Linked DNA regions of Homo sapiens: region 1 is linked to region 2. Evidence: promoter capture Hi-C in 16 types of primary human blood cells and fetal thymus (Javierre and others, 2016). All regions are on one chromosome and are shown on one strand. Each heading gives the region's core, a stretch centred on a gene start or on the middle of the fragment in contact. The rest is flanking DNA. Distances are from core to core; before and after follow the strand shown.

What was found. The method cuts DNA at HindIII sites, captures the fragments that hold promoters and counts their contacts. A CHiCAGO score of 5 or more calls a contact.
Region 1: a fragment that was not itself captured here is called in contact with the fragment with the promoter of PDE2A in region 2 in 1 of 17 cell types (neutrophils); the score reaches 6.1 in neutrophils.

The regions. Positions count from the first base shown.
Region 1 is chr11:73,154,405-73,157,474 of GRCh38, forward strand. IUR1 (imatinib upregulated ABL suppressing lncRNA 1) reads right to left here. Exons shown (of 4, transcript XR_950294.3): 4 at 1,376-3,070. Among named protein-coding and RNA genes, the nearest start is that of FCHSD2, 14 kb to the left of the region's middle. RefSeq lists enhancers at 40-279, 2,333-2,422, 2,913-2,962, 2,973-3,070. The HindIII fragment of the contact is 9,109 bases long and covers 1-3,070 here.
Region 2 is chr11:72,672,910-72,675,787 of GRCh38, forward strand. It overlaps PDE2A (phosphodiesterase 2A), which reads right to left and starts at 1,513. Exons shown (of 31, transcript NM_002599.5): 1 at 1,228-1,513. The coding sequence starts at 1,298. RefSeq lists enhancers at 82-708, 709-1,334, 1,335-1,961, 1,962-2,586, 2,737-2,878. The HindIII fragment of the contact is 6,386 bases long and covers 1-2,878 here.

The DNA of each region.
Region 1 (3,070 bases), core at 565-3,064, 480 kb after region 2:
CTTCCTTAGGCAGCAAGCAGACCTTGGGCCACAGCCTCTGCACCAGACCCTGGAGAGTTTTGTTTCTTCTTGGGGGCTCGGCCCAGACAGCCACAGTAGTGAACTCCCCCTGAGGAGCCTAGCAGGAGGTTCGTGGCAGGAAAGTTTGTGGCAGGAAAGCCTGATAACCCACAAACCCTAGAAATTGGAGTCTTGACTTTGATGACACCTCATCTGATCTGTATGGTTGGGGACAGAAAGGCCTCACATAAGGAAACTCCTGGAGAATCATAAGCCCTCAGAGCCCTTGGTAAAACCTGTTCATTTTACGGATGGGGAGACTGAGGCCCAGAAAGGGATTTGCCCAGAGCAGATATGCAATGGTGTACCCAATGCTGATCTTAAAGGTTTTGATCTGTGGTACCTTTAGTTGCTTTTGCCCATTTTCTTTCTTCTCTTTTCTCTTCTATTTTCTTTTCTTTTCTTTGACGGAGTCTCGCTCTGTCACCCAGCCTGGAGTGTAGGGGTGTGACCTCAGCTTACTGCAACTTCCACCTCCTAGGTTCAAGCAATTCCCCTGCCTCAGCGCCCCGAGTAGCTGGGACGACAGCATGCACAACCACACCTGGATAATTTTTGTATTTTTATTTTATTTATTATGATTTTTTAAGATGGAGTCTCGCCCTGTCACCCAGGCTGTAGTGTAGTGCACGATCTTGGCTCACTGCAACCAAGCAATCCGCCCGCCTTGGCCTCCCATAGTGCTGGGATTACAGGCCTGAGCCTCCGCTCTCGGCCTGTTTTCTTTTTCTATTTCCTTTCTACCAGCCTGGCAGATGCCTCCTCTCTCTGCTGCCTTGGTGAATACCTGCCTGCCTGCAGCAGCAACTTCTCACCCCCAACATTGGCTGCCAATTAACCTTTAAACCTTTTACAACCAGATCACCATGGGCTTCATGCTCAAAGTGTAAAGTGAGAATGTAAAGTATGAGTAAATGGATTCACATCAAGGTTCTGGGGATCATCTTAGGTATCTAAAGGCCTTTTATACTTAGAATATGGTTTCTGCAGCAATTCTTCAACAGAGAGAAAAATCCAGAGATAAAAATGGGGTTCAGGCCAGGCACAGTGGCTCATGCCTGTAATCCCAGCACTTTGGGAGGCCGAGGCAGGTGGATCACCTGAGGTCAGGAGTTCGAGACCAGCCTGGCCAACATGGTGAAACCCCATCTCTACTAAAAATACAAAAAATAGCTGGGCGTGGTGGTGTGTGTCTGTAATCCCAGCTACTCGGGAGGCTGAGGCAGGAGAATCGCTTGAACCTGGGAGGTGGAGGTTGCAGTGAGCCGAGATTGAGCTATTGCACTTCAGCCTGGATGACAAGAGGGAAATTCCATCTCAAAAAAAAAAAAAAAAAAAAAAAGAATGGGGTCCAGGAATATGTTTTCACTGCTCTTTGTCAATCCTCTCTCCAGCTCACATTTCACCCACACACACTTGGAGGGTGCCTCTGGAAGGATGACAACAGCTTGCGCCTCCATTTTTCTCACTTTGGTAATTCATTATCATCCCTAAGGCTGGAAAGGGCATTAAAGTTCAGGCAGTTCAATTCCAAGTTCGATTCAGAAATTATTTCCTCCATCCATTCTTCTGCTCCAAAACCTTGACTAACTCATGCCAGATCTAGTGCTTGGTGCTGTGAGATCCAACAGGGTCTTGCCTTCAGGGAACTCACATCTGAGAAGGGAGACAGGTGTGTAAAGAACACCTACAGTGGAGTGTGTAATGTGGTAGAGGGGAGAGTGATCAGGTTTCTCAGGGAAGGAGATGCTCTCCTGGGATCTTGAAGGATGAATTTACCAAGCAGGGAAATGGGGGAAGGGCTCCAAGCAGCTGTCAATATTCATACCACCAGAACTTGCCCTGTCAGTCAGGCCACTTCTTACTCAGACTCCCAGACTTCTGCACAACCCCTTGCCTTTCTCTCAGGCTTTACTCACCCACTGTGTCTGTCAAAAAACGTTCCCAGGCACTTCATCTGTAAAGGTCCTGTACTGGGTCCTGGAGACTCCTGGCCTTGAGGAGCCCACAGCTTGGTGGGGGATGGATGCATAGAGAGCCAATGACCACATAGTGTGAACATGGGAAGGTCAGAACTGAAGAGCCAGCAACAAATGCTATCTGAGCCATCCTTGGGAGGACAGGGGAGACTTTCTGCAGGAGGTGATATATAACCTGACATCTGAGCTATGGAATCTCCTACATCCTCATAGCACTCCTTTAAGGTAGGCCTTATTATTCCCTTTTAGATATGATAAAACTGAAGCCCAGAAAAGGGCAATGCCTTACCCAAGGTCACATGATTAGTGAGCGAGGTAGGTATGCATTCACCCCTGTGTACCCAGCAGCAGAGGTGGAAGTGGCACTATTGGAAGAGCTGGGCCTCAGGGGCTAGGACCAGAGGTGGAATGTTCAGAAGCACGGAGGGAGGAGCAGAAGCTGAGAACCTGGAGCTGATGGAACCTACAGGTTGTGCCATCTCTCCCAGACATACAGTAGAGCAGAGAAGGGACAGGAATATCCAGCAGGGCATCAGCTTGCAGCTTCATATCAGCAGAGCTGGCTCAGTCCTTAGACACCATCCTATCCAGCCCAGGAGAAACAGGTTTGTCCAGGGCAATTGATGAGGATGCATAGTATCACAGTGGCTGACCCTGGGCTAGATAGAATTCAGAGGCTTTGTCCTCCAGCCCAGTGCTCCACCCATTGCCCCAGCTGCCACTACATTGTTCAATCCAATCTACGTTTACTGATGGTGTGCTCTGGATTGGACACTCTTCCAGGCACCATGGAGACCACAGGGATCCTCCCCTTCACTGCTGTCAGGAGCTTTCAGCTGCATGGAGGAAGTCAGGTTGGGCTCCAAGACCTAGACTCCAAGTAGCATGTGGGAAGTGAGACAGCAGCAGGCATGAACACAGTGCTGGGGAGTGGGGTGAGGAGGACCTTAATGGCACAAGTGCCATGAGCAATCCTTAGACTTCAGATCTCCCATCTGTCCCAAGAAGAGACTGGAGTCAACAATCTCTGA
Region 2 (2,878 bases), core at 263-2,762:
TCCCAGCTGTATCCTCAATTGCCAGGGGAAGGAAACAGCCACCCACACACACTCAGATGAATACACACATATAGATACACACACACACCAGCCACAGAAGCACCGATATACACACTAGCACCATGATCACACACCCACACCAGAATACTTATACGCACACAGCCACATCCACCTCCACACACAGCAATGCTATTATTCACACACTAACAAATACACACACATAAATGCACATGGAACAGATAAAAAATGCACACTGATTCACTCTATTTTGCAGACACAACACACATAATATACAAACTCAACCTAATAGACACACCTACATACATATGCAGACCAACCTGCACTCACACTCAGACACATGCGAATAAACTCTCACTCACACAGGGATGATCACAAACTCTGACAGGCTGCTTTACATCCAACCACCAAGGACCCTAGAGCTCTACAGGCCCCTCTACACCCAACATGTCCCTTACATTCCACATGTATACACACACACACACACACACATACCCTGCCTACCACCTCGGCAGCCCTTAGTAGAGGGGTGTCGCCACGGCGCCCCCCACTCACTTGCACATGCACCCCCCTGCACGTGGACACACACGAGGCTGGCACCATATTCCATCTGGCTCCGTAGAACCCTATCCTGGGACAGACGCTTTGGGGTAAAGTTTCATAAAGTGGTGTCCCTGAACCCCAATTCCCAATTCCATGGAAGGTGGTTACCTCTAACCCTCTCTTGCTCCAGGGCCACTCTTATTCATATTTTCTCCATCTTTCCCCCTCCCCACCTCCTTCACACACACATAGCCTTGGTGGGCCAAGACACTCTCCCTCTCCGGGTCCTGAACCAGCCTATTGCAGCCCCGAGAGCTCCTCCCAACTACTTGGCAGACCTCCCCCTCCCCACATACACCCTCAGCCCTTGAAGAACCGGTTCAGGTTCATTATCAGCCCCTCCTCCAACCAGCAGCCCCTTCCATGGGACCCCAGCCTCATCACCTACTAGGTTGACGTTAGACACCCTCATTCTGCTCAGAGGTAACCTGCCCCCACCCCAGGCTGCAGTCTGGCAACGCGGGGAGGAGGGGTGCCCAGGAACAGGATCGATCCTTCCACGTGGCTCAGCTCCATGCCAACCCCAGCTCCTTGGAGGGACTCCCAGGACCCTGTCTGTGGCACCTCTCACAGCCGCTCACCACCCCAGCCCCTCACTATACTCACGGCTCAGCCGGTCGCGCTGCCGGGTACTGCTGGCTCCTGCAGAGGATGGAGTGGCCGCATGCCTGCCCCATCACTCCTCATCGTCCGCCTCCCCAGCCAGACTAAGGTGGCACCTCGCCCTGTCCCCGCTGCCTGGAGTTCAGGGCAGGGCACCCCCAGCAGGCACAGGGACCAAGAGCAGTGGGCTGCCCCCTACTCAGCCTGGACTCAACACCCCAATCCAGCTCTGCTGCCCCGCTGCTCCCGCCTCTCCCGCTGCCACTGCCTCTGCTGCTCGGCTGGCTCTGGGAGGAGGTTGGAGCAGGTCTGATAATGCAGAAGGGGGAGGGAGGAGGGAGGAGGAACAGAGAGAGGCCCAGACAGAGAGGGAGAGAGGGAGAGAGGGAGGGGTAGAGAGAGAGTCTGACTGGGAGAGAGGAAAAAAGACTCACAGACAGAGAGACTGAGAGATAAACAGAGACAGGAAGGGGGACAGTAACACATGAAGAGGGAGAGGAGAGAGGGATCAGAGCCTTAGCGAGATCAAGATGGAAGTACAAAGAGACCAGAGAGGCATAGAGAAACACACACACAGAGGAACAAAGGCAGAAAAGGAAAAAAAATCAGAGGCAGAAATAGAAAGAGAGTGGGGTAGGGGGAAAGGGGAGTGGCTGACAGAGGAGAGAGGGGAGAGGACGAGGGATTTACAATCCTCATGGGCTAGGATGGGGCTGGGGACTTGAGGGGCAGCAGACCCAGACCCTCTGCTGCCCCATCGCAGAAGCCTTCAGGATGAGGGGACACGCTTGTGCCCTCAAGTCTGAGAGATCAGGCCTCCATGCACAGCTAGCTGCCCTCTCCTCTGGGCTCCCTCACCCGGTGTGTATCATCTCCTAGCGTGCATCCCAGCCTGGAGCTGGGTCCACGGAAGACTTAGGGGGCTTTACTGATGGCCTTTGGACTCAGAGCCTTGTCACAGGGCCCACCTCTTGGTGGCTTGGTTTAGCTGGGACTTGGAGCTGATGCGTGAGCATGGACTTCTACCAGGATCTGTGGAGACCTAGGCCACAGCCTGCCCCACATGGCCTTCGCTGCTCACAGACTACAGGCATGGGGGAAGGCCTGTTGCACCCCCACCCTGCTTCCAAAGAGGACTCCCTAGGATAAAGCTATAACCTAGTGAAATAGAGGCATTTTAGGCCCTAGGACAGATAGAGAGTTGTCACAGCAGAGCTACTATTGTATGCAGGAGAAACAGCTCCACACCTTGAGGCAGGAAATGGGGATTTGGATCCTGGCTTCACCATTAACTTACTTATTCATTGGCCTACCAGTGGCTGAGCTCATGGCTCACACTATCCCTTGTCTCAGAGAAGCACTCGGGCTGGGGAGTGGGGAGGGGAGACTTGCAGGCTGTGACAGAAAGAAGCACAGGGTCTGTGAAGCCCAGAGGGACCCCTGACCTAGTTTGGGTGGTGGGGGGGCGGTTAGCAAGCATTTCTGGAAGAGAGGGTCCAAGCTGGGTCTTTTAAGGCAGAAGAGGGTATATTCCAGGGTAGAGGAGCTACAGCAAACCCTCCACAGCAACCCCATCTCTCTGAGCTGTGGGGAGAATACCTCCCCGCCACACAACAGGCTTCAAGCAGAGAAGTCCCTGAGGCTGAATAGAAAC